Regions from separate parts of the Homo sapiens genome. Here all the other regions are linked to region 2. Evidence: promoter capture Hi-C in 16 types of primary human blood cells and fetal thymus (Javierre and others, 2016). All regions are on one chromosome and are shown on one strand. The core of a region is centred on a gene start or on the middle of the fragment in contact, and the rest is flanking DNA. Distances in the headings are between cores, read along the strand shown. Region 1 holds the start of LRP4 (LDL receptor related protein 4). Region 2 holds the start of C1QTNF4 (C1q and TNF related 4). Region 3 overlaps PTPRJ (protein tyrosine phosphatase receptor type J).

The links. The method cuts DNA at HindIII sites, captures the fragments that hold promoters and counts their contacts. A CHiCAGO score of 5 or more calls a contact.
Region 1: a contact is called between the fragment with the promoter of LRP4 here and the fragment with the promoter of C1QTNF4 in region 2, in 1 of 17 cell types (non-activated CD4 T cells). The highest score is 5.2, in non-activated CD4 T cells.
Region 3: a fragment that was not itself captured here is called in contact with the fragment with the promoter of C1QTNF4 in region 2 in 2 of 17 cell types (naive B cells and total B cells); the score reaches 6.7 in naive B cells.

The regions. Positions count from the first base shown.
Region 1 is chr11:46,916,690-46,921,429 of GRCh38, forward strand. LRP4 (LDL receptor related protein 4) reads right to left here and starts at 1,861. Exons shown (of 38, transcript NM_002334.4): 1 at 1,639-1,861. The coding sequence starts at 1,690. RefSeq lists enhancers at 51-922, 2,086-2,590, 3,285-3,786, 3,787-4,286 and silencers at 1,426-1,595, 1,606-1,785, 1,796-2,025. The HindIII fragment of the contact is 10,743 bases long and covers 1-4,740 here.
Region 2 is chr11:47,592,774-47,597,546 of GRCh38, forward strand. It overlaps C1QTNF4 (C1q and TNF related 4), which reads right to left and starts at 1,638. Exons shown (of 2, transcript NM_031909.3): 1 at 1,375-1,638. The HindIII fragment of the contact is 4,016 bases long and covers 1-2,951 here.
Region 3 is chr11:48,112,360-48,116,527 of GRCh38, forward strand. PTPRJ (protein tyrosine phosphatase receptor type J) reads left to right here. Exons shown (of 25, transcript NM_002843.4): 3 at 388-624. Among named protein-coding and RNA genes, the nearest start is that of MIR3161, 18 kb to the left of the region's middle. The HindIII fragment of the contact is 657 bases long and covers 2,115-2,771 here.

The DNA of each region.
Region 1 (4,740 bases), core at 611-3,110, 680 kb before region 2:
TTTTAACCCTAATTTTTTTTTTTTTTCCCAGTGCCTTGCCATTTCCCTTGATCTTTTTCAAAACTTCCTCCAGGGGGCTGAGAGGAAAGTTCCATCCCCTTTCCTTGCAACCCGAAGGGGGAAACCCCCCAAAAAGCAAAGCTGTCCCTTTAAGGGGCCCATGTGGTGGGAAGAACAGCTACATTCCTACCCCAGTAGGGCCGCTGTCCCAACACGCCAAAGAGGCTACAAATAACCTTCCAGGAGAGAGCCGGGGAGGGGAGAGCGCAGAGCGGAGCGGAACGTGGGCCGGCCAAGCTACCGCTCTTCGGAGAGAAAGAGCTCAGTCCGCGCTAGAGAGGACGCGGAAAAAAGCCCCTGAAAACCCACAGGTAGTTTAAATAAGAGACATGAAAACTCTGTTTTGGATTTGGGAGGTAAACCAATCTTTAAAACGAGTGCCTAGACATCTCCACGCCCTGCCAGGCAAGTTCGGAAATCTGCACTGACTTTTTCCACACGAGCTGTCCTACGTGAAAGAAAGAACCGGTAAAAGACCAGGCAGGGTCTCCAGACCCCTCCATTCTGAGCCCCAGCTCCCTTCATCGGGGCTGCGAGGCAAATGGGGAGACTCGGAACTCCCGCCACGATGAATAGCGATGGGTGAATAGGGCTGGGGTTCAAAGATCAAAGTTCTTTGATCTCTGGGCACAAACTAGGGAAAGCTGCTCAATCACGGGGTGCACCCAGGGTCGTTAAGAGCCCGCGGAGAAGCAGATTCCATCGGAGCCCTAGTCCCACACAACAGGGGGTACGGGCACCAAGGAGTCCTGCTGCAGCCGTCCAGCTCCCCCGAGGGCTGGGACCCTGCCGCGAGGGCCCGGCGGCTGCCTTCTGGGGTTCAGGGTTACCGGCCCCCTGCCCCCCTACCCCAGCCAGGGCAGATCTGCGGGAGCCTTCCAGCAGTTTCTTCCCTATATTCCTCCTCAGCCCCCTTTCCAACCACCTCCCTTTAGGACGATCCAGGGCTGGAAGCTGACTGGCCGCAGCCAAGAGAGGGACCCCGAAACACCGCCGAGGGGAGATGCTGCCCGCAAACAGTGCCCCAGAGCCCCTTGGTGGGAGCAAGACCTGGAGTCCGGGAATCGTTCTCCGAGTAGAGGAATCCCGGTGCCCAAGTACCAGATTCTACCGGGGCCTCTCTCCGCAACCCGCCCGAGCCCCCAGCCCCAGGAAGGAGGGCTATTTACAATTTATGGGTTTAGCGACCCTCCTCACCCGCCTCCCTTTCTTCGCACGCATTCATTCGCACCAAGGACACAGAGCCCCCGACCTAACCTGAAAGGGAAGCAGCCCCCGCTCTTGAAAGAGCAGCGAGGGAGGGCGAGCGAACGAACGCCCCGGACCTTACCCGCGCCCCGGCCCAGACCCGCGCCCCGGCCCAGACCCGAACCCGCGGAAGCGCCTCCGCTGATGCCCCCGCTCGGACTGCTGGAGCCGGGGCCGCTCCGGGTCCTCTCCCCTGCACGCAGCCCCAGGGCCACGGCTAGGAGCGAGGGCGAGGGGTCTCAGGCCCCGGCCCGCGCCGTCCAGGTCCCGGGAGGCGAGTCCTGCAGCGGCCGGACCCAGGGACAAACTTTCCCGGCGGGCGCCGCTTACCGTGTGCGCAGAGCAGGGCGCCAAGCAGCAGCGCGCCCCACTGCCGCCTCATGGTGCCGCCCGCGCCGCTCGCCCGGGGTCCCGCCGGCTCCCGCCGGACGGCGCGGCGGAGAAGCCCGCGGAGGGTCCCCGAGGGGGAAGCGTCCCGGGTGCACGGCGGCCTGCGCGCCCCGCAAGTCGCCCTCGGGCCGCCGCCGCCTCCAGTGCTGCCAGAGCCGACGCTGCCCCGCCAGGGGACCGGGAGGGGGTGTCCCGGGCCCGACCGCCCCGCCCCCCGCGCCGCAGCCCCGGCCACCGCCACCGCGCCTGGGCCCGCCCCCAGCGCCGGCCCGGCCCCTTCCCGCCCTCGGCCCCGGCTCCCTGGTCCCCCGACCCCACCCGCCGGCGCCTCCTGCGCGGGGCCCCGCTCCTCCTCAGGCCGCCCCCACATTCCTGGCCCGAGAGAGAGCCCCCTCCCTGTCGCTATTACTACTGCTTAAATTTCCCTAACTTAAAAAAAAAAAATTATCCTAGCAGCAAGTCTCGCCCCCGCTCACTCCAGCTCTATGCTTCAGACGAGCACCTGAGCTGACCCAAGTCGCCTGGACGTGACCCTGCCCCCGCCTACCGGCCCCAAGTCCAGACTTTTTTGATGTCTGCGAATACGCAAGGCTTGTGGATGCATAATCCTCTTGGGTCTTTATTGACATCAAACAAGGGACATCAGGGGGCCTGGAGTGCTGTATCTTAACTGGCGTTCTCACTGTCAAAATTCCTTTTCGGAGATTTTCTTCTCCCTGGCCTCCCCCGGTCTAGGCAGCGTTGTTCTAGGGCTAAATAATTCACCGACCCCCCCGCCCCTTTTCATTCACTCATTTCCTGAGATGGTTGTCTGGGTCCTGTTGCTCCAGCTCAGAGGCCCAGATTCGGCCCATACAGACTTAGTTCCTCCTTGCTGTCTTTGTAAATCACTGTTGTTAGCCTCTTCACCTTCTTTGACTTTCTGATCCTGACAAGGAAGGGAGGGGGTCAGGAAAGGAGTCCTCATGGGCAGCTGCACTCCCACAAAGCCCTCAGCCTCCTTCCAGCCCCAGTCTGTAGGTCCTTCCCTCAGATTTAACTTTTGATTTACTGCATAAAATCATAAACTTGTCTCTAGTCTTCCTTCCTTTTGTGGTCTACTCTCCCTAATGCATATTAATAATACGGATTAATTTCACCACCTTCCATTTTTCCAGGTTGAATCTTGTTTTGTTCCTTTTGCCCAAATGCCCAACTTTCTGATGGCCCAGTATATCGCTTTTTTCCCTCCCAGCTGATATGCCAGCATTTCTTGGGCTTGGATCATCTATGGATTTCATTAACTCACTTTCCTCACCAGTAAATAGAGTCAGGAAGACCCAAATGCCCCCTGTTAGCTGAGGGGAAAGTAATTTGGCATAGTGCAAAGTGGTTATTAGATTTCTCTAAATGGATACATTGACATTTCATCCTTGCTTGTTTTTTTCAGTACTTTCACTTCAAATTACCATCTTTTACCAAAGCTAACATGAACCATACTTTGCGACAGCAACAACAACAACATAAAAGATGTAAGGTGTTAACTCCTTGTTAGGCAGTAGTTTTCTATATCGTTTTGCCTGAAATTTTTATCCAGATGCAATGTGGTTGAACTAGCATCACCATGGTAACTATTACTGAAGCATTTTCTGGGTGTGTAGTTCTTCTTGCTGACTGAAGGCGGCAGTAGCGTCAGGTCAGGCTTACATGATCTTGGGGCTAGGCAAGACTGTCAACATTTCTGGCCTCGATCAGTTACCACAGCCTAAAATCCAAGGAGGAAAAAACGTCAAAAGTAGAGGCTGATTCCCCAGCATCCTCCTTCCCACCTCTCATTTCCTAATGCAGGTTTGGTTGGTCTCAGGGTTTCATATATGTTGCTTATGAAGACTTGCTCTTTTTTTTTCTTTTTTGAGACGGAGTTTCACTCTTGTTGCCCAGGCTGGAGTGCAATGGCGCCATCTCAGCTCACTGCAACCTCGGCCTCCCGGGTTCAAGCGATTCTCCTGCCTCAGCCTCCCGAGTAGGGTAGCTGGGATTACAGGCATGCGCCATCACGTCCGGCTAATGTATTTTTCGTAGACGGAGTTTCTCCATGTTGGTCAGGCTGGTCTCGAACTCCTGACCTCAGGTGATCCACCCGCCTCGGCCTCCCAAAGTGCTGGGATTATAGGCGTGAGCCACTCTGCCTGGCCGAAGACTTGCTTTTAAATCTGTTGGGAATGACCTTGGGATTCTGGAGACCATATTTTTTTCCAGCTGAAAACTAGGGACTTGTGGTAGAGCCAGTACAGTTGTCCCAAAGAAATCCAGGATAGGCAGTCCCCATACTTTCAATGTCAGGGGATTAAGAAGTTATAAACAGTTTCCACTCTGTATGCAAAGGACAGGTTCCTTTCCAGAGGCATGATTTGTGTTGTTTTTCTGGAATTGGAGAAGAAACGAGAGGCGGGCTGTCCCTGTCTGACTCAGCTTGAGAGACTGTTTCCTATGTGCATCCCAAGTCCTTCTCCACGGTTCAGCACAGTTCTGGTGCACAGAGTCATCCCTGGCTGCTGTGAGTCACTGGGAATATCAATGGGTAAGAAACTAGCTTCGTGCATAGTCCCTGTCTGGGTCACCCCCTAGGGTGAGTTAAGTCTTGGCTGTCAGAGACTGCTCTTGTGCCAGGAGTACTAAGCCATATTTATTTTTACCAGGCCTCTCAGACTTTCTTGTTTGGAGTGAGAGATCCTGAAAAGCAGGCCAGAATGGGCTGTTTGTCTCCCTTTCACTGTCCTCTGGGACATGCCCCTAGAAAAGTTGTAGGGGACTGCCAATTCCAGAGGGGTCTCAGAGGCGTTGGTTTCCTCAGAAACACCACCCCTTTCCTTCATCTTTCTAGAACAGCCCAGCATTCTTTCTTCCCAAGATCAGAATATTTCCCTGAATTAGACCATCACTAATGGTCTTTTCAAAGGAAACGCAGGGAGTGCTACGGAAACAAGATAGGGGTGGGCACTATTTTGATCCAACTGGGTTGGTAGAATTCTCTTATAACCCGGGAATCATTCAACAACCTGA
Region 2 (4,773 bases), core at 388-2,887:
GGTGTAGATGTGCAGAACGTCCCAGCTAGAATCTAGCTCACACTCCACATGTTAGAGCAGCACCTGGCGTAAAGTATGCCACCTTCTCATTCTCATACTAAAGACCCCAAGTTGCTAGCCAACTGAATGCTGTCTCCTTCCAGAGGAGGTGCTTTTTGTAATTCTCACAAAGGTGTCCTATGGATTAGTTAGGTGTCCCTTGGTTAGGACAGGGAGGAGGGAAGGGGCCATCCACAGTGGTGAAGATGGCACCTCACAAGTGTCCAGTGCATTCCCTTTTACAAAGTTCTTTTAGACACATGGTCTTGGCAAACCTACAAGACAGGTGGGCCGTCTCCCATTTTATAGATGAGAAAGCTGAGGCCCAACAAGGGAAAGCATTTTGGCCCAAGGTCACCCATGGAGCACTGAGGTTTTTTGACTCAAATTCCGTATGCCTTCCTGTCACTCTTCCCTCCTAGACACAGGTATGTCCAGCCAATTTGTTCTGTGCCTCAGTTTACCTTTTTGCAAAACTAGGAGAGGAGATCAGAGGAATGAGTCTTGGGATCCAGGGTGAGGAAGACAGAAAGCAAAACCAAACAAAAGCAAGCAAACACATTCTCTAGTGTTTTGTCTTCTGGGAACACGGAAAACAGCTCAGCTTTTCCATACCGCTGCTTTCCTAGTGGGTCCTGCCCCAGAAGCAGCTGCCCAGCAACCTCCTGACCAAGGCTGGTGCACCCCACCAGTGCCAAGGGTCTTCCTGTGCACCCAGTACCCAGCCTCCGTTTCACCCACACTGCCCAATTCCCAGATCCCTGGATCCTCGTCCTTCCCTGAACCCCCTTCCCTGAGCAGGTCAGAGGTGTGGGAGGGTGTGTCAGGTGGGTGTCATAGCTCCAGGGAAGGAAATGGCTGTTCCTGGCTCTGTCCAGGTGGGGTTCAAAATAGTCATCTTCAAAGAGAAAAACTGGGACACAGAGCTGGAGAGACCCAGAGCCCCGGAGCCAAGGCGGGAGGTGCAGCGATGTCAGGCTGAGGGGATCGCAGAGTTCCCCCTTGCCCTGCCACTCACCAGTTAACCCTTCCCTCAAGCCCTGCCAGAGCCCCCTCCCCAACCTACCTTGAAAGCCCCTCATCCTTCCAAGAAGTCCCACTTTCACAGAAGCCAATTAATCCTTATTTTTAAAAAACAAAAACCAATCCCTCTCCCCCGAGACCTTCCCTCCATCCATCCATCCCTTTGGAATGAAAGCCCTTGTGCCTGTTTCACGAAAAGGCTCCCAGGTCCTCCTTTCAAGGAAAAAGGACCCAATTTCCCCGCGCCTCCCCAGCCCTCGCTTCCAGTAAAGGGGGAACCTCGGCTCCCTGCCTCCCCTCAGCTGCCCTCACCTGGCTGGGGGCGGCGGTCGAGTCGGGTTCGGTCTGAGCCCGCGATCTGGCTCCGGGCTGCGGGCTGCGGGCTGCAGGCTGCAGGCTGCGGGTGCCGGGCTGCGCGCTGACCGCCCGCGCTGCGGCAGGGGCGGCGGGGGCTCCGGCTGCTTTTCCCGGCTCTGAGGCGGCAGCGGACAGGGTGCTGGGGCCAGGGGCCGGGCGTGGGGAGGCGTGAGGGAAAGGGAAGGTCAGCTAGAGAGGGAGCCGAGCGAGAGCGAAGAGGCGGGGGAGAGACGGGAGGGGGAGAGGAGGGGAGTAGGGGAGAGGGAGGGGCGAGCTGCGGGGCCTAGGGGCTCCGCACGGAGTCTGCGCCGAGCACTGGACCCTTCCTCATCTGTGACCTCCTTAGAGCTTCGTCCTCTGGGTCTAGAGAGCAGGCATCATTAATCTGAGCAGTTGGGGAAACTGAGGCCAGAGGCAGCAGCTAACGCGGGGTGGCCCAGAGCGCTCTACAGTCCAGCTTCCTTCCTAGTGTGGGGAGAGAGGGCTAGAGCTGGACTCAGAGGCTGGACTAGCCTTTGGGCTGCAAGGACAGTGGAAGGTGAGATTTTGGCTGGGACAGATGTCCAAGCTAAGTGGCCTTGGGGGAGAGGTCTGAAGGAAGAGAAGGATAAATGGGTCAATGTTGCCAGTAAAGGAAGAGCTGAAAATAACCTAGTTTTTCCTCCTCACCTCCAAATTGGAAAATGCCCACGGTCGGTTAGGAAAGAGGGAGAAGGGAGTCTGCAGGCATCAGAGGGGCAGCCTGCGTTCCCCGGGGTGAGGGGCAGTAAGGAGGAGAGTCCTTGGGGCAGAATGGAATTTTCTGCTGGGAAGGTTGCTCCTGCAAGAAGGGACAGGATTGAGAGGGCAATAGGTGGGGAAGAAAGGCCTCTGGAGAGGGAAACTGATGCCCTGCCTCGCTGGGGCCAGGCTAGCAAGAGTCCAGCAGGGCACCCGGGCTGGGAACAGCGGTCTTCCCATGGTAATACTCACCAGAGGCACTAGTGCTGGCCTCTACTCTGGGCTTCGAGCCCGTGGGATGGGGGCTCAGACTCCCTTTCTCTAGGCTGCTGTTCTCTCCCCTGACGGCTGTAGAGGTGACGACACTGCCTGGCACTCAGTAGATGCTGACTGAGTGGATGACTTTTGAAGAGCTCTACTTTCAGCAGCCAAGAGCTGGTGCCCTCTGCCTGGCCCTGGTTGACTCCAGAGCCATGGGCTCTAATTCTGCCTCTGCTGCAGGTCTGCTCTGTGGTCCCTGAGAGGCCTGGACCCCTGCAGAACCCCCGTCCTCTGGAGCTTTCCTTTTGGAGCTCTCAAAGTTTACCCCACCCCAGTTAATCTATTTGTCTCTAGGAAGATGTTGGTAGAGGTGATTGGCTCTGCTTCAAGGGTGTTAGGTGAATGATGGAATGAATTAACGAATATGTGCCAGAATAGAAAGGAATGAATGGAGGTGTTTTGGGCTGGATAATGAGGGTATTTGGTGACAGAGGGTGAAGCACCTGTCTAGCCCTTGTCAGATCACAACTGTCTCTTTCACCAACTTGAAAAGCTTGGGCCACAGGACTGTGGGGAGGACAAGAAGCAGGGTAAGGGTGGGATGAGCCACACAGGGATGTCGAAGGAGAGCTGGGGGATGCCAAAAGCCAACCTATGGCAATCTATGGCCCTTCTTAGGGCCATGGGCCCCTTCTGGATGAGAAGAGTGGAGCTGCTCTCCTGAGGGTGATTCCAATGGTGGGAGGGGAGGGGAGGGGAGAAGGTATATTATAGGATAATATAATCTCAGTTGAGGTTTGGTTCAGGCTGGGATTTGACACTCCCTGGATCCACAAGAGTTCTCACCAGAGAAGTGAGGGTTGAGGTAGAGATGGGTGGCTGGGGCAGATGACATCAGGATTTGCATCAGGGGACTGGGATAGGGAGGAAGCCACTGGGAAAGGGATATAGAGAAAGATGATGCCATGAGCTGGTGGGTGTAAGGCAGATGGGTGGGCTCCAGAATGGGAGTTAAGAAGAGGTGGCAGCAGGATCCAGAGAAAAGCCCTAGGCTGGTTATAGTCCCTGCTCCCTCCTCTCTTGTTTTGCAGCCACAATTTTATTTATTTTTGAGAGAGGGTCTTGCTGTGTCACCTGGGCTGGAGTGCAATGGTATGATCTTGGCTCACTGCAGCTTTGACCTTGCGGGCTCAAGTGATTCTCCCACCTCAGCCTCCCAGGTAGCTGGGACTACAGGTGCAGGTCACCATGCCTGGCTAATTTTTTTTAAAATTTTTTGTAGAGACGAGGTCTCACTCTGTTGCCCAGGCTGGTCTTAAACAACAATTATTTTATTTATTTTTTAATTGAGACGGGTATGGCTGGGCATGGTGGCTTACGCCTATGATATTAGCACTTTGGGAGGCCAAGGTGGGAAGATCGCTTGAGCTCAGAAGTTTGAGACCACTCTGGGCAACAGAGTGAGACCCCATCTCTCTCTCTCTTTTTTTTTTTTTTTTCTGAGACAGACTCTCGCTCTGTTGCCCAGGCTGGAGTGCAATGCTGCGATCTTGGCTCACTGCAACCTCCGCCTCCCGGGTTCAAGCGATTCTCCTGCCTCAGCCTCCTGAGTACCTGGGATTACAGGAGCGCGCCACCATGTCCGACTAATATTTTGTATTTTTAGTAGAGACGGGGTTTCACCATGTTGGTCAGGCTGGTCTTGGAACTCCTGACCTCGTGATCCGCCCGCCTTGGCCTCTCAAAGTGCTGGGATTACAGGCGTGAGCCACCGCGCCCAGCTGTCCCCATCACTTAAAAAAAAAGTTAAAAAAATTAACATTAAAATATATATAAATTGAGACGGGTTCTTTTTTCTTTTCTTGAGATGGAGTTTTGCTCTTGTTGCCCAGGCTGGCGTGCAATGGAGCAATCTTGGCTCACCGCAACCTCCCGCTCCCAGGTTCAAGTGATTCTCCTGCCTCAGCCTCCTGAGTAGCTGGGATTACAGGTATGCACCACCACCCTGGCTAATTTTGTATTCTTAGTAGAGATGGAGTTTCTGCATGTTGGTCAGGCTGTTCTCAAACTCCTGACCTCAGGTGATCCGCCCGCCTCAGCCTCCCAAAATGCTGGGATTTCAGGAGTGAGCCACTGCGCCTGGCTGAGATAGGTTCTTACTCTGTCACCCAGGCTGGAGTGCAGTGGCACGATCTTGGCTCATTGCAGCCTGGGCTTAAGTGATCCTCCCCCGTCAGCCTGCCACCACGTGGCAGCTAATAAACAACAATAATTTTTATTTATTTTTATTTTTTGAAATGGAGTTTCACTCTTGTCACCCAAGCTGGAATGCAATGGTGCGATCTCGGCTCACTGCAACCTCCGCCTCCTGGG
Region 3 (4,168 bases), core at 1,193-3,692, 520 kb after region 2:
AGAGTGGTCTCTGCTGCACCTCCCTGAACAGAGACTCTAGGAGACTAGTAATGAATTCAAGATAAAGCAGCCAGTGTGGCCAAGGTTCTCCTTCAGTGCCTGAGCTCTTGGCCATAGGAGCTCACGCCTCCTCTCCTTTCCTGTGAATGACTGTGTGCAGTGTAAGCATGGAGCTTCTGCACTCTCGTGGCCAGGTACTCTCCATGTGGCCAGAAATGGCAGTTTCTGAGGGGCTCATGTTGTAGGTGATGATACAAAGAAGAGAAAGAGAGGGATCAGTTTTTCCAAGTGTGCATTTCATTTCAGTGTAAATATTTTGTGAGGTGGGGCATCCCTGTCTCCTGGAGAAATATATTTTTAATCTAATTGTTTACTTTCTTTGCATAGCCCCTAGTCCAATTCCTGACCCTTCAGTAGCAACTGTTGCCACAGGGGAAAATGGCATAACGCAGATCAGCAGTACAGCAGAATCCTTTCATAAACAGAATGGAACTGGAACACCTCAGGTGGAAACAAACACCAGTGAGGATGGTGAAAGCTCTGGAGCCAACGATAGTTTAAGAACACCTGAACAAGGATCTAATGGGACTGATGGGGCATCTCAAAAAACTCCCAGTAGCACTGGTAAGCATAGGCTTTTCTGCCAGTCATGTTTCTTAAAGGAAATCGGTAGAATTTATAAATGTCATGTTTTCCAAATACTGTTCTTCTTTTAATTACCTAAGAAAATCTTTTTAAAAATTTTTATAAAGATAGTAATGCATATTCATTATATAAAACATAGACAAGAAAAGAATAACAAGTAAATCATTAACTGGAGATAACCATTGATCACTTGATATACGAGTTTTATAATTTTAAGATATATGCATGCCTGTGTGCATATGTATATACATATATATGTTTTATTTTGTTTTACAAATATCAAGGTCATCCTTTACATGTAGCTTCTCACCAATATATTACAAATATTCTTCCCTGTTAGTATATACATTTCTACAGGACAGTTTTAATACCTGCCTGGCATTCTATTTTCTAAATCAGGGTTGGCAGATAATAATGGTCCTTGGGCCAAATATAGATCACTTTCTGTTTTTGTAAGTAAAGTTTTATTGAGTCTGCCTATGGCTGCTTTCATGCTAGAATTGAGTAGTGGCAATGGAGAATTTGTGGCTTGTAAAGCCTGAAATATTTATTCTGTGGCCCTTACAGAAAAACATTGCTGATACCTGGGTTAGATAATTGATTCTAAAACTGTGGTTCAGAGATCTCTAGGGGTCTCCTAGATTCTTTCAAGGTATTTCTGGGTATTGTTTTCATAATACTACTAACATGTTATTTGGCTTCTTTACTCTCATTTTATCATGAGTGTACAGTGGAGTCTTGCAGATTCTATATGATTTGGGATGACACTGTCACTCTTACAGCTAATGGAATGTATGCTTTCATATTGTTTAAAAAACTTTATCTTTTTTATTTCTAATACAGTATGGTAAATATTAATCAATATAACCCATATAAACAAAAATTCTCCGGGAGCCTTAATAATTTTTAAGAAGTTAAAAGGGCCCTGAGACCACAGTGTTTAAGAATTACTTGTCTAAAAGCATTGTAAATTATTTAACTGCTCCCCTGTTGTTGGGAAGGTAGATTATTTATTTATAATTTTTCATAAAAAACATTGTGATACAATAGTTTTGTTAGTTCTAGAAGTATTGATAAAATCACATACACAGTTAAAATAAGTCATTGAATTATTTCTAGGGTAATATGAGAAACTTTTAGAAATTCCTAAGGGGCTGGGCACAGTGGCTCATGCCTGTAATCACAGCACTTTGGGAGGCTAAGGTGGGTGATCACCTGAGGTCAGGAGTTCAAGGCCAGCCTGGCCAACATGGCAAAACCCCGTCTCTGTTAAAAATACAAAAATTAGCCGGGTGTGGTCATGCATGCCTGTAATCCCAGCTACTCGGGAGGCTGAGGCAGGAGAATTGCTTGAACCCAGGAGGCAGAGGTTGCAGTGAGTGGAGATGGTGCCACTGCACTCCCGACAGAGTGAGACTCTGTCTCAAAAAAAAAAAAAAAAAAAAAAAAAAAAAGAAAAATTCCTAGCAAGCTTATGTTAATTATTGTTACAAAAATTTGGGCTTAGAGGTTGGGACCATACCAGATGGTCTTCCCAGAAATCACTGGACAGGCTTACTGTTGAAGGGCATTTCCAGAGGAAGCCAATCTACAATGATTGGAATAAGAACCTACTTCTTCAAATATACAGACATCAACACAGAGTCACAAGGATCAAGAATAATCAGGGAAACGTGATATTACCAGAGAAACAAAATAAAGTGCAAGTGGTTGACCATAAAGAGATGGGAGATGTATGAACTGTCTGACAGAGAATTCAAAATACATGTTTTAAGGAAGCCTAGCAAACTTTAAGAAAATACAGATAAAGAATTCAAAGAAATGAGGAAAACAATAAGTGACTAGATTGAGATATTTAACAGAGAAGCAAACAGAAATTCTGAAGCTAAAAAATACTTTGAACAAAATGAAAAATGTAATAGAGAGCACCAAGAGTAGAACTGATCAAGTAGAAGAAATAATCCTTGAACTTGAAGACAGATTATTTGAAAATATACAGAGGAGGAAAAATAAAAAAGTGGATAAAAAGGAATGAAGAATGCCTATAGGATTTATGCAACAGCATCAAAAGACGTGGTATTTGAATTGGAGTTCATCTAGGGGAAGAGAAAGATAAAGAGGTAGAAAGCTTATTTAAAGAAATAGTAGCAGAAAACTCTCCAAACCTGGAGAAAGATATAAATATCCAGGTACAGGAAGGACAAATGACTCCAATCAGAGTCAATTCAAACAAGACTACTCCAGAACATAATCACACTGTCAAACATCACAGACAATGGGGATTTGGAAAGCAAAAAGAGAAAAGAAGCAAATAACATGTAAGGGAGCTCCACTTCAGCTAGCAGCAGACTTCTCAGCAGAAACTTACAGGCCAGGAGAGAGTGGGATGATATATTCACCATGCTGAGGGAAAACAACCTGCCAACCAAGATTGCTATACCCAGCAGAACTGGCCATCAAAAATGAAGGCAAGATAAAAGACTTTACCAGAGAAACAAAAGCTGAGGGAGTTCATCACCACTAGACATGTCTTATAAGAAATGCTAAAGAGAGTTTTTAAGCTGAAAGAAAAGGACACTAGTGATTAATTGAAAACATATGAAAGGATAAGACTAGTAAAATAAATACACAGTCAAATTCAGAATACATGAATACTGTAATGGTCATACATATCTTTAATATGAAAGTTAAAAGATAATACTTAAAAAATAATAACTACAATAACTTGCAGGGGGGATATGCAATATAAAAAGATGTAAATGGTGACATAAACAATTCATAATATGAGTGGGGAATGGACTAGAAGTGTAGAGGTCAATTTGTGTGTGTGATCAAAGTTGTCATCAGCATAAAATAACCTGTTATAACTATAAGATTCTTTTTATAAGCCTCATGGTAACCACAAAGAAGAACCTTTAGTAGATACACAAAAAATAAAAAGCAAGGAATCAAAACATACTACTAGAGAATATCACTTAACCTCAAAGGAAGATAGTAAGAGAGGACGGAAGGAACAAAGAGTCTATAAAACAACCAAATGGCAGTAGTAAGTTCTTACCTATCAATAATAACCTTGAAAGTAAAGGGTTTAAATTCTCCAATCAAAAGACATAGAGTGCGTGAATGGGTTAAAAAAAAAAACCGATCTCAATAGTATGCTGTCTACAAGAGACTCACCTCACCTGCAAGGACATGCCTAGACTGAAAGTGAAGGGATGGAAAAAGATACTCCATGCTAATGGAAATCTAAAGAGTGGCAGGAGTAGCTATACTTATGTCAGATAAAATAGACTTTAAGTTCAAAACTTTTAATGGAGACAACAAACATCATTTTATAATGATAAAGGGATCAATTCATCAAGAGGTCTTAACAATTATAAATATATATGCACCCAGCATTGGAATGCCTAAATATATAAAGCAAATATTAATGGATCTGAATGGACAGATTGACTGCAATGCATTCATAGTAGAGGACTTCCACCACCTTACTTCCAGCAATGGACAATGATCCAGACAGGAA